Regions from separate parts of the Homo sapiens genome. Here region 2 is linked to region 1. The links are contacts of gene promoters, found by promoter capture Hi-C in blood cells and fetal thymus (Javierre and others, 2016). All regions are on one chromosome and are shown on one strand. Each heading gives the region's core, a stretch centred on a gene start or on the middle of the fragment in contact. The rest is flanking DNA. Distances are from core to core; before and after follow the strand shown. Region 1 holds the start of ALDH2 (aldehyde dehydrogenase 2 family member). Region 2 overlaps ALDH2 (aldehyde dehydrogenase 2 family member).

What was found. The method cuts DNA at HindIII sites, captures the fragments that hold promoters and counts their contacts. A CHiCAGO score of 5 or more calls a contact.
Region 2: a contact is called between a fragment that was not itself captured here and the fragment with the promoter of ALDH2 in region 1, in 2 of 17 cell types (endothelial precursors and M2 macrophages). The highest score is 6.4, in endothelial precursors.

Annotation. Positions count from the first base shown.
Region 1 is chr12:111,764,227-111,770,500 of GRCh38, forward strand. It overlaps ALDH2 (aldehyde dehydrogenase 2 family member), which reads left to right and starts at 2,707. Exons shown (of 13, transcript NM_000690.4): 1 at 2,707-2,870. The coding sequence starts at 2,757. RefSeq lists an enhancer at 2,166-2,935 and a silencer at 2,395-2,714. The HindIII fragment of the contact is 5,400 bases long and covers 1-3,668 here.
Region 2 is chr12:111,807,622-111,813,895 of GRCh38, forward strand. It overlaps ALDH2 (aldehyde dehydrogenase 2 family member), which reads left to right. Exons shown (of 13, transcript NM_000690.4): 13 at 1,922-6,274. The coding sequence ends at 1,954. Among named protein-coding and RNA genes, the nearest start is that of MIR6761, 11 kb to the left of the region's middle. The HindIII fragment of the contact is 3,706 bases long and covers 1,965-5,670 here.

The DNA of each region.
Region 1 (6,274 bases), core at 1,457-3,956:
TTGGGGAAAAAAAACAAGAAGACTTAGAAAGCTACAGTGATGAAAACAGTGTCATACTGGCACACGCATACAGAGATCAATGACACAGAATATACAGTAGTTCAGAAATAGCTACTTACAGTTACTTAGTAGTAAAAAGATGACTGGCAGGATGTATTTGTGCCATATATGATAGACAAAATGTTAATTGCCTGGATACATATAAAGCACCTACAAATCAATTTCAGAAAGACCAACAATCCAATAGAAAAGTGAGCCAGAGACATGAGCAGCTAGTTCATAGCAGAGGAAACATGCATGACTTCATCTAGGCAGAGATGCTCAAGCTCACTCGTAAAAGAGAAGCAAATTAATGTGGTAGTGAAATGCCACTTTTTCGTCTCTCAGATTAGCAAAGCTAAAAAAAAAATCCTGAAACTTCTACTGGTGAGGGTGTAAGGAAACTCAGACATGACAGGTAGTGGGGCATAAATTAAACTTCTTTGGAGGGTAATATATCTGTATTTAAATTGTAAATATTCTTTGTTCCATTTCTACTAATTTCTTTCTTTTCTTTTCTTTCTTTTTTTTTTCTTTTTTTTTTTCTTTTTTTTTTTTTTTTGAGACGTAGTCTCACTCTATCACCCAGGCTGGAGTTCAGTGGCACGATCTCAGCTCTTGGCTCACTGCAACCTCTGTCTCCCAGATTCAAGCAATCTCCTGCCTCACCTTCTGGAGTAGCTGGGATTACAGGCACTGCGACCATTCCTGGCTAATTGTGTGTGTGTGTGTGTGTGTGTGTGTGTGTGTGTGTGTGTGTGTGTGTGTGTGTTTAGTAGAGATGGGGTTTCACCATGTTGGCCAGGCTGGTCTCGAACTCCTCACCTCAAGTGATCTACCCGCCTCAGCTTCCCCCCCAGAGTGCTGAGATTACAGGCACGAGTCATGGTGCCAGCCTCATTTCTATTAATTTCTTAAGCAAATCAAGAGCATACATTGTGGCATTGTTTGTAGTGGCAAAAGATTGGAAACAACCTAAATGTCCATCATAGGAAATTCATGAAATAAAACTACCTCATGTATCCAGAGGAATACCATGAAACTGTTGAAGAGAATGGGGACATAGTCCTTGTGTGCTGTGACAAAACGATCTCCACACACAGTATTAAGGGAAAAAAAGTACCTGGCACGGTGGCTCATGCCTGTAATCCCAGAACTTTGGGAGGCCGAGGTGGGCGGATCACCTAAGGTCAGGAGTTCGAGACCAGCTTGACCAATATGATGAAACCCCATCTCTACTAAAAATACAAAAATTAACCAAGTGTGGTGGCATGCGCCTGTAATCCCAGCCACTTGGGAGGCTGAGACAGGAGAATCGCTAGAACCTGGGAGGTGGAAGTTGCAGTGAGCCCACATGGTGCCAGCCTGGGCAACAAGAGTGAAACCCCATCTAAAAAAAAAAAGCAAGGCGCCATTGGGAAGGGGAAGTGGGGCCTGCATGGCTGAATTCAGAGAAGGAAGGGAGTCTTGGTTATCAGATTATCTCTGCAGCTGATCTCCAAACCTATTTCCCTTCTTCCTGGCACAGGGGCCACTCATTTCCCAGACTCTTTTGCATGGAGGCATGGTTGTGTGATTGAAATCCAGCCAGGCGAGCAGGCTCAGCCCACAGAAACCTCCCATGGGCCACCCCCATGCCTTTTCTTCCTCTGGTTTGTGTGGAATGGTGCTGAGCCCCCAGGGCGACTTTGGTGGAATCTGGTGTTGAAATCAGAGTCCCACCGCCGGGCGCGGTGGCTCACGCCTGTAATCCCAGCACTTTGGGAGGCCGAGGCAGGCGGATCATGAGGTGAGGAGATCGAGACCATCCTGGCTAACACGGTGAAACCCCGTCTCTACTGAAAATACAAAAAATTAGCCGGGCGTGGTGGCAGGCGCCTGTGGTCCCAGCTACTCCGGAGGCGGAGGCAGGAGACTGGTGTGAACCCGGGAGGCAGAGCTTGCAGTGAGCCGAGATCGTGCCACTGCACTCCAGCCTAGGCGACACAGTGAGACTCCGTCTCAAAAAAAAAAAAAAAAAAAAGAATAAGCAAATCATGCAAATCATCCTGTTCTAAACTCTGAACCGCTGCTTCCAAGACCGTCCCTGCCCTTGCCCTGGCCGCCTCTCTCCTTGTTAACTGGGCTCCATTCATTCTTTCCATTTCTCTAACACGTGCCAGGTGGTCTCATCTCCTGGCCTTTGCCCTTGCTGTTCCCTGTCATCATTCAGGTCTCACTTGTCATTTCCTGACCATGGTACTTATAAAAGCAGTGCCGTCTGCCCCATCCATGTCACCTCGTTCATCTCCTTCACCTCCGAAATGATCTCGCTTTTGGGTTTACGGCCGGTCTCTTCACCTGGAGCATCAGCCGGGAAGGTCAGGGTCGCCCTGGCTCGGGCCTGTTCACATTGGGGTCAAAGGCACACATTGGGGGCTCAACCAAGGCGAGCTGCGTTCGCGGGGCCGGGTCTTTCCGCACAGGCGGAGGGCGGTGGCGGGCGCGGAGGCGTCGCGCGAGCCAGGGGGCAGCCACGGGCCGGGGGTACCTAGCGCCACCCGCTTCGCTTGCATCAGCTGCGCGCCCCATCCCGAGGAATGGTAGAGGCAGCCCCGCCCCCGGCCCGCCCCCGCCTTTCCATTGGCTGCCGCGCGGGGCGGGGAGCGGGGTCGGCTCAGTGGCCCTGAGACCCTAGCTCTGCTCTCGGTCCGCTCGCTGTCCGCTAGCCCGCTGCGATGTTGCGCGCTGCCGCCCGCTTCGGGCCCCGCCTGGGCCGCCGCCTCTTGTCAGCCGCCGCCACCCAGGCCGTGCCTGCCCCCAACCAGCAGCCCGAGGTCTTCTGCAACCAGGTGAGCCCACCGGCCGGGCTCGCGCTTTGTTTTCCGGCCCGAGTCCCCCGCAGGCCCCTAGGAAGGCCCCGCGCCGCCGTGGGCCTTAGTGTACTCATCTGGGGCTCGAGGGGTTTGCAGAGGCTGACCTGGAAGCACATCTGCCCCCTCCTCTCCTGCAAGCATTTTAGCCCCTTCGCCGCCTCTGACAGTCCCCGTCCCATTTCCCCGTGACTTGGGCCCCCTCTCCGTCTTCGCCCAGCCTCGGTCTGTTTTCCAGGGCCAACTCTCGGGGTTCCGTTCTCCCCATGGTCCTTGCTTTCGGGTCTCCGCAGGGTCCCCACCCTCACCCACTCAGAAGACGCGACCAAGTCCCTCTTTGCAGGAACTTTCCTGTCTTTTCCTTAGTCATCCCCTTTACCCCCTGACTCATGCCCTCATCCAAGGAGTTCAAAAGGAAAAACCAGGAAAGAGGTGATTTGCAGCCACGTTCTCCAGTTCACCATGGGCGAGGCCACGCTCGGCTGCTTCCATTGCTGGGAGTAGGGAATCCTGGAGGACCTTCGGCCCCAGGGGGCCGACCCCAAGGGGTGTCTGCGGCTTCCAACGCCGGCTTCGACCAAACCAAGGAGGAGCTTTCCAGGATAAAACTGATTCCTGTGGTCCATTTATTGATTGCTCAATCAGTAATACTTTGGAATATTTTTTGTTTTGATCTTTGAGTTTGGTTAAAGTTCTAGACTTCACAGAGGCTGAAATTGGTTATGAAAGAGTTTGTTTTGTTTGTGCCAGTGCATGTTGGCTGCCTTCTCTGACTTAAGCTTTTTCTCCTATAAATGGAAAGGCGCTCTGAGGGTTAGGTTCACACAGGCCCTCATCAACCAGTCACTTCATAGTTAATCACAGCTCCTGTCCTGTCTGCACAGCCTTTGTGCAGCACTGTTCTAAGCGTCTACCTGTTTTGCAATTTAAGGTAATTTTTACAACAGCCTCAGTAGGAAGGGACTGTAATTCTCCATTTTACAGATGAAGAGACTGAGTCACAAAGAGGTTTAGTGACTCACCTAAAGACCAAAGTCAGTGGCATAGTTGGGGTTCACAGCTGAACTTCCAGGAGTAAGCCCCTAACCAGAACATTCCATGGTATGTTGTGACTCTGGGTGGGAACAAAGGGACCACCGATCCTCTGGGACTATTGCTGATTTGGGATGCTGTAGAGCTGGCTCCTAGCCAGCTGCTTTCAACAGCACACCTGCTGGTCTGGCCCTGAGTGTGGCTGCAAATCTGGATATAGGTGATGGGTAAAGGCACATGCGTGTGATTTTAGGGGATGTTACAAAGGTCATTTGCAAGGGAATTTTTAAAAGGATAAAATAAAATCTTTTGCATAACACAAGCTAAAAAGGCAGCAGCTATGGCTCCCTTGGCAGCCTGTGCAAGTTCATGCTTGGAAGACTTGAGCATCAAAAGATCTAGCAGAGGCCAGGTGCAGTAGCTCATGCCTGTAAATCCCAGCATTTTGGGAGGCCGAGGTGGGATGATCCGTTGAGCCTAGGATTTCGAGACCAGCCTGGGCAACATAGCAAGACCCTGTCTCTAGTCTCTACTAAAAAAGTAAATTAGTTAGGTGCGGTGGCACATGCCTGTAGTCCCAGCTATATGGGAGGCTGAGGTGGGATGATCCCTTGAGCCTAGGATTTCGAGACCAGCCTGGGCAACATAGCAAGACCCTGTGTCTAGTCTCTACTAAAAAAGTAAATTAGTCAGGTGCGGTGGCACATGCCTGTAGTCCCAGCTATATGGGAGGCCGAGGTGGGAGGATCACTTGAGCCTAGGAGTTCGAGGCTGCAGTGAGCTATGATTGGGCCACTACACTTAGTCTGAGCAACAGAACAAGACCCTGTCTCAGAAATGTCCTCAAGGAACAGCCATCGCCCTAGGAACCCTTCTGGCCACAGGATCTGATTAAAATCTTTATCCTTTATCACATGCAGATGAGGCAGCTGGGTCCAGATATGCACCCAGGCCCATAGGTAACACATCCTGTTCTCCAGATTTACTCTGTGGGTGTAGGCTGGAGGAGCCGAGTCAATTCCCTGTGGCTGCTTTTCTTTATCAGACTTTTTGAGATCATTAAAGTAACACATGCCCACTGTATAAAATTGCAGAGGACTGACTTACAACTCTCTGGACATGGTCAGTCAAGGTGATTCATGCCTGTAATTCCAGCACTTTGGGATGCCAAGGTGGGAAGATCGCTTGAGATTAGATGTAAGGCTGCAGTGAACTATGATTGTGCCACTGCACTCCAGCCTGGGCAATGGAGCAAGAACCCATCTCTTAAAAAATAAATAAATAAATAAACCTCTCTGGATACCCCATTTTACTCCCTCCAAGAGCACTGTGAACAGGTGGGTGTGTCTCTTGTAGACATTTTGTTTGCATTTACAAGTGCCTGCAGCAAGAGAGAGAGAGAGAGAATGCAAGCACACCAGACTTTTTTTTTTTTTTAACATAAATGAGATGCAACCACTTATATTCTGAAGCTCGCCGTCTCACTGAACAATGTACCTGGGTTATCATTCTGAGTACGTTCAGATCTCATTTAACCCTTTCCAAGGACCACAGAGCATTCTACTCTGGTGGCGCCGTGCTGGAACTGGACCTCTTAGAGCCCCCTGGGCTGTTTGCAGTGTGGCCTTATTGCTGACTCAGCAGGGAAGAGGGATGGTGCATACAGCAGTGGACTCTGCACCTCAGCTGCCTCATCTGTAAAATGGGGTAAAATGGCTGGGTGCAGTGGCTCACACCTGTAATCCCAGCATTTTGCAAGACTGAAGCAGGCGGATCACGAGGTCAGGAGTTCGAGACTAGCCTGGCCAACATAGTGAAACCCTGTCTCTACTGAAAATACAAAAATTAGCTGGGCATGGTGGCGCGCACCTGTAATCCCAGCTACTTGGGAGGCTGAGGCAGGAGCATCACTTGAACCTGGGAGGCAGAGGTTGCAGTGAGCCGAGATCACACTACTGCATTCCAGCCTGGGTGACAGAGCGAGACTCCATCTCAAAAAAAAAAAAAAATGTGGGGGGTAAAATTCCATCTGCATCACCGAATTGCTGTGAGGACCAAATGGGGTGAGGCTTCTGCAGCCACAGGCAGTGCTGGCTTCATGGCCACTGGTGCCTCCATATTGACTGCAGCCTTAAGCAGGAGCTGGGATAACAGTGACGCTGTGGACTTGCAGTGTCTTGGTGATCAAACTCCATTTGATATGGATGCTGTTGTATTTGCAGTTTGTTTCCTGAAGGGGTGAGCTAGATTGTGGTAAAGTAGAATGGGAGTTTGGGGTGAATTAAAACTTGCATCTTTATTCTTACCCTCTCTTTCTGTTTTTGTTTTTGTTTTGAGACAGGGTCTCTCAC
Region 2 (6,274 bases), core at 2,568-5,067, 45 kb after region 1:
TGGTGAGGGGAGGAAGAGAAGAACGTACTAAACAAAGAGCATAGCTTCTGGAAAAGCTGTGATGGCGAGAAATATGGCTCTTCCAGGAACTGCAGGAAGGTTGCTGGTGGTGGAAGATGTAGTGGTTAGTGGGGAGAGAGCAAGGCCAGAATGCACAGGCCCTTGTTGGCCATGATGTGGGGTTTGATGTCTTTGATAATGGAGTTTGATCTCAGCTATGGGAGCATTTTAAGTAGAAGAATTAGGTGGCTCAATTTTTTTTTTTTTTTTTCTGAGCCAGAGTCTTGCTCTGTTGCTCAGGCTGGAGTGCAGTGCTGTGATCTTGGCTCACTGCAACCTCCGCCTCCCGGGCTCAAGCGATTCTCATGCCTCAGCCACTTGACTAGCTGGGATTACAGGCGCCTGCCACCACACCTGGCTAATTTTTTGTATTTGTAGAGATGAGGTTTCACCCTGTTGGCCAGGCTGATCTCGAACTCCTGGCCTCAAGTAATCTGCCTGCCTCGGCCTCCCAAAGTTCTGGGATTACAGGTGTGAACCACTGTGCCTGGCCCACTCAATTTGTATTTTTAAAAGATTGCTCTGCTTAATCTATAGAGACAGAAACTTATTACTGGTCATCTAGGGCATGGGGAATGGGTAGTGGCTGCTCATGGGTGCAAGATTGCTTTTGGAGATGATGCAGATGTTCTAAAACTGGAGTATGGTGATGATTGCACAACTTAAAATATTCTAAAAGCAATTACACTTGATTGTGCATAAATCATATCTCAAGAAAGTTGTTTAAAAATTTAAGAAAGCGGCCAGGCGCGGTGGCTCACGCCTGTAATCCCAGCACTTTGGGACACTGAGGCAGGTGAATCACCTGAGGTCAGGAGTTCGAGACCAGCCTGACCAACAAGGTGAAATCCCTTCTCTACTAAAAACACAAAAATTAGCAAGGCTTGGTTGCAGGTGCCTGTAGTCCCACCTACTCGGGAGGCTGAGACAGGAGAATTGCTTGAACCTGGGAGGCAGAGGTTGCAGTGAGCCGAGATTGCGCCACTGCACTCCAGCCTGGGCAACAGAGTAAGACTCCGTCTCAAAAAAAAAAATTTAAGAAACCTCACTCTGCTTGCCCTAGGGAGAATGGACCATCCAGTATGAGGAGGGATGAGGGAGCTGTCAGGAGACTGCTCCAAGGAGAAAGATGGTGGTTTGGATTGGAGTGGTGCAGTGCAGGTGGAGAAAAGAGGGTATATGTGACAGGAAGCCAGGAGTAGGATTGGCGACTCTGGATATAGAGAGGAAAAGCAAAACTAGGAATCAAAGATGGCACCCAGGTTTCCAAGGAGGGGTTGAGTGGTGACGCCAGTCCTGTGATAGGGAACACTGAATGAAGTACTGTGGTTCTCTTTAGGGTTGTGTTTGGGGTACCTGTCCAAACCCAAGAGGTGATGTGGAGAACACATCTAGGGAGATGGGCTTGGAGCTCCAGGGGCAAGACCCAGATTTGAAATAGAAATTCTGACATCATTGGCCTATAACTCTTCATCAAAATCATAGTTACAGGCCACGTGCCATGGCTCACGCCTGTAATCTTAGCACTTTGGGAGGCCCAGACAGGCGGAACGCTTGAGCCCAGGAGTTCAAGACAAGCCTGGGCAACATAGTGACACCCCATCTCTAATAAAAATACAAAAAGTTAGCTGGGTGTTATGGTGCATGCCTGTAGTCCCAGCTACTTGGGAGGCTGAGGTGGGAGGATCGCTTGAGCCAGGAGGTCAAGGCAGTAGTGAGCTGTAATTGCACCCCTGTACTCCAGTCTGGGGAGAAAAAAAGAAAAGCCCTTTCTGCTCACACTTAGTCAGCTCCTAGCTGAGGGGACCTACAGATCACAGGGAAGCAGGAAGATCTAACGGCTTCTCTGTCCCCCTTACAGGTCACAGTCAAAGTGCCTCAGAAGAACTCATAAGAATCATGCAAGCTTCCTCCCTCAGCCATTGATGGAAAGTTCAGCAAGATCAGCAACAAAACCAAGAAAAATGATCCTTGCGTGCTGAATATCTGAAAAGAGAAATTTTTCCTACAAAATCTCTTGGGTCAAGAAAGTTCTAGAATTTGAATTGATAAACATGGTGGGTTGGCTGAGGGTAAGAGTATATGAGGAACCTTTTAAACGACAACAATACTGCTAGCTTTCAGGATGATTTTTAAAAAATAGATTCAAATGTGTTATCCTCTCTCTGAAACGCTTCCTATAACTCGAGTTTATAGGGGAAGAAAAAGCTATTGTTTACAATTATATCACCATTAAGGCAACTGCTACACCCTGCTTTGTATTCTGGGCTAAGATTCATTAAAAACTAGCTGCTCTTAACTTACTGGGTAACTCTTTGTCCATCTCAATAACCAAAGGAAGGTGGGCATGGTGGCTCACGCCTGTAATCCCAGCACTTTGGGAAGCCGAGGCGGGTGGATCACTCGAGGTCAGGAGTTTGAGACCAGCCTGGCCAACGTAGTGAAACCCTGTCTCTCACTAAAAATACACAAATTAGGCAGTCATGGTGGCTGGCACCTGTAATCCCAGCTACTTGGGAGGCTGAGGCAGGAAAATTGGTTGAACCTGGGAGGTGGAGGTTGCAGTGAGTGGAGATCATGCCACTGCACTCCAGCCTGGGAGTCAGAGCGAGACTCCATCTCAAAAAAAGTAAATAAATGAAATAGCCTAAGGAAATGCTGGCAGGCAGTAATGATATGGCACACTGGATATGATTTCTGCCCCTCCTCTGCTGTGGGTAAACAGCTTCTGTTTCATGCATTTACTTTTTTATTTTAATTACACCAATAAGAATGTGCTTGAATGTTTCATGCATTTAATTTGTTTCATGCATTTAACTTCTGGCCTGTTTACCTGTAGCAGGCTCTGAGATGTGCTCTAGAGACAGAACCTAAACATGATGCCCAAGAGAGGGGAGAGATACTGAATGTCCAATGTTCTCAAATTTTTTTTTTTTTTTTTTTTGAGACAGGGTCTTGCTCTGCCATCCAGGCTGGAGTGCAGTGGCACGATCATAGCTCACTGCTGCCTCGACCTCCTGGGCTCAAATGATCCTCCTGCTTCAGCTTCCTGGGCTAATGTTTGTATTTTTTGTGGAGATGGGACTTTGTTATGTTGCCCAGGCTGTTTTCAAACTCCTGGACTCAAGTGATCCTCCCGCCTTAGCCTCCTAAGGTGCTGGGATTACAGGTGTGAGCCACTGTGCCCAATTCAGTTCTCAGTAAAAACTTGATCAGGCCAAATGAAAGTGACATGGGCCAATTTCATAATAGATTGATTTGGAAACCAGATGTCAATTTACTTACTTTAAGTGAGATCTGTATCTTCAGTAACCAGACCTCTTGAGTCTCCCACCCAGAACACTATCTTCCTCTAGTCAAGATACCTGGCAAAGGCCGGGCACAGTGGCTCACGCCTATAATTCCAGCACTTTGGGAGGCCAAGGTGGGTGGGTCACCTGAGGTTGGGAGTTCGAGACCAGCCTGACCAACAGGGAGAAACCCCATCTCTACTGAAAATACAAAAAAAAAAAAAAAAACTAGCCGGGCATGGTGGCTCATGCCTGTAATCCCAGCTACTCAGGAGGCTGAGGCAGGAGAATTGCTTGAACCTGGGAGGCAGAGGTTGCAGTGAGCCAAGATTGCTCCATTGTACTCCAGCCTGGGCAACAAGAGAGAAACTCCGTCTCAAAATATAAATAAATAAGAAAAAGAAGAAATGGAAGCTGGGTTCAAGAGGGCAATCAGCAGTCTCTACCATCATGTGAAACACCACTCTGTGATTTGAGTCTTGACAATGTATTTTCTTTTTTTTTTTCTTCTTTTTTTTTTGAGACTGAGTCTCGGTCTGTCGCCCAGGCTGGAGTGCAGTGACGTGATCTTGGCTCACTGCAACCTCTGCCTCCTGGGTTGGAGCAATTCTCCTGCCTCAGCCTCCTGAGTAGCTGGGATTACAGGTGTGCGCCACCATGCCTGGCTAATTTTTGTATTTTTAGTAGAGACGGGGTTTTGCCATGTTGGCCAGGCTGGTGTTGAAGGCCTGACCTCAGGTAATCCACCCACCTCTGCCTCCCAGAGTACTGGGATTACAAGTGTGAGCCACCGTGCCCGGCCAACTGTAGGGACCAGCCCCACAGGGTCGGTGGGTTTTTCTCCCCATGTGCGGAGACGAGAGATTGTAGAAATAAAGACACAAGACAAAGAGGTAAAAGAAAAGACAGCTGGGCTTGGGGGACCACTACCACCAAGAGGCGGAGACCGGTAGAGGCCCCGAATGTCTGGCTGCACTGTTATTTATTGGATACAAAGCAAAAGGGGCAGGGTAAAGAGTGTGAGTCATCTCCAATGACAGGTAAGGTCACGTGGGTCACGTGTCCACTGGACAGGGGGCCCTTCCCTGCCTGGCAGCCAAGGCAGAGATAGACAGGGAGAGAGAGAGACAGCTTACGCCATTATTTCTGCGTATCAGAGACTTTTAGTACTTTCACTAATTTTGCTACTGTTATCTAAAAGGCAGAGCCAGGTGTACAGGATGGAACATGAAGGCAGACTAGGAGCGTGACCACTGAAGCACAGCACCACAGGGAGACGGTTAGGCCTCCGGATAACTAATGATTAATGATATTCATATATAATCATGTCTGTGATCTAGATCTAGTATAACTCTTGTTGTTTTATATATTTTATTATACTGGAACAGCTCGTGCCCTCGGTCTCTTGCCTCAGCACCTGGATGGCTTGCCGCCCACAGCCAACAATGTGTTTTCAATATGCTCCCCAAACTACAGCAAACTCCTCTTAACTCGGGATTTAGGGTGATGCCCTACTTATGCCTAACTTTATCACCAGCTTAACCCTCATCTCATTATATAGGATGATATTACTTCTAGGAAGATTTTCTATGTATGGAGGGTGCATCATTTAAGAGTATTTTAGGCCAGGCACTGTGGCTCATGCCTGTAATCCCAGCATTTTGGGAAGCTGAGGTGGGTGATTTGCTTCAGCCCACGAGTTCAAGATCAGCCTGGCCAATATGGTGAAACCCCATCTCTACAAAAAAATACAAAAATTAGCTGAGCGTGGTGATGTGTGCCTGTGGTCCCAGTTACTCTGGAGGCTGATGTGGGAGGATCACTTGAGCCCAGGAGGTCAAGGCTGCAGTGAGCTGTGATTGCACCACTTCACTCCAGCCCAGAGTGAGACCCCATCTCTGAAAAAAACACAAAAAACAAGAAAAGAATACTGCAAAGAACCTTGGTAGGGGTGAATTGGAAAAAGTAGAGAAATGTAATATTTCTTTCCTGCTGTACTCACTGTAACTGTGAGAGGATCGGCTCTTTTAACCAACAGATAAGAAAGGAAATATTAGCTATGAAGAAATGTCTATCAAGTTGATTTTGACAACCTAGACACATTAATCTCCTTGCACTTTTAGTGACAGGAACCCATTAGAACCTTAAGCAGCTGTCTGAAGTAAAAACAAAGCTCTCAGGTGATGAACCACCTAATCTCCCTGGGTATTCGGATGTGGGTCAGTCACAGGAGTATTAGGTGTAAAGCCGCTGCTTCTGGGTAGAGCCTCCACTTGTGGCTGCACAGAGGGCACAGAGAGCTTTTCCTTCAGCCCGGAGAAGCTTCCTAAGTGTGGGCGCCACCTTGTGGGACATACATTGAACTACGACGCTATTTCTCCAAGAATTAACAGGACAGCCCCTCCCACCGGTGTCCTTCCAACGATGTTGCATACAATTTGGCTGTACATTTGGCAGGCAGTGTAATGAGGGAATCAAAGACCAGGATCACATACTGGAAAGAATTGAAAACAGAGACTCCCAACAAAAACTTGTACACGGACGTTCACAGCAGCACTATTCACGACAGCTCAGAGATGGAATCAACCCAAATATCAGTCAATAGATGAATGGACAGACAAAATGTGACATATCCATGCAGTGGAATATTATTTAGCCATAAAAAGGAAGGAAGTGCTGATGCATGTTGCGATGTGGATGAACCTTGAAAACATGATGCTGAGTGAAAGAAGCCAGACACAAAAGGAGAAGGACTGTATGATTTCACTTATAGGAAATATCCAGAACAGGCAAATCTATATAGAGAGAAGGTCGATTGCTGGGGGCCCTGGGAAGGGACCAAGGGGGAGTGACTTCTAATGGTGGGGTGCCCTTTTGGGGTGATGAAAATGTTTTGGAACCAGATACAGGTGGTGGTTGTACAA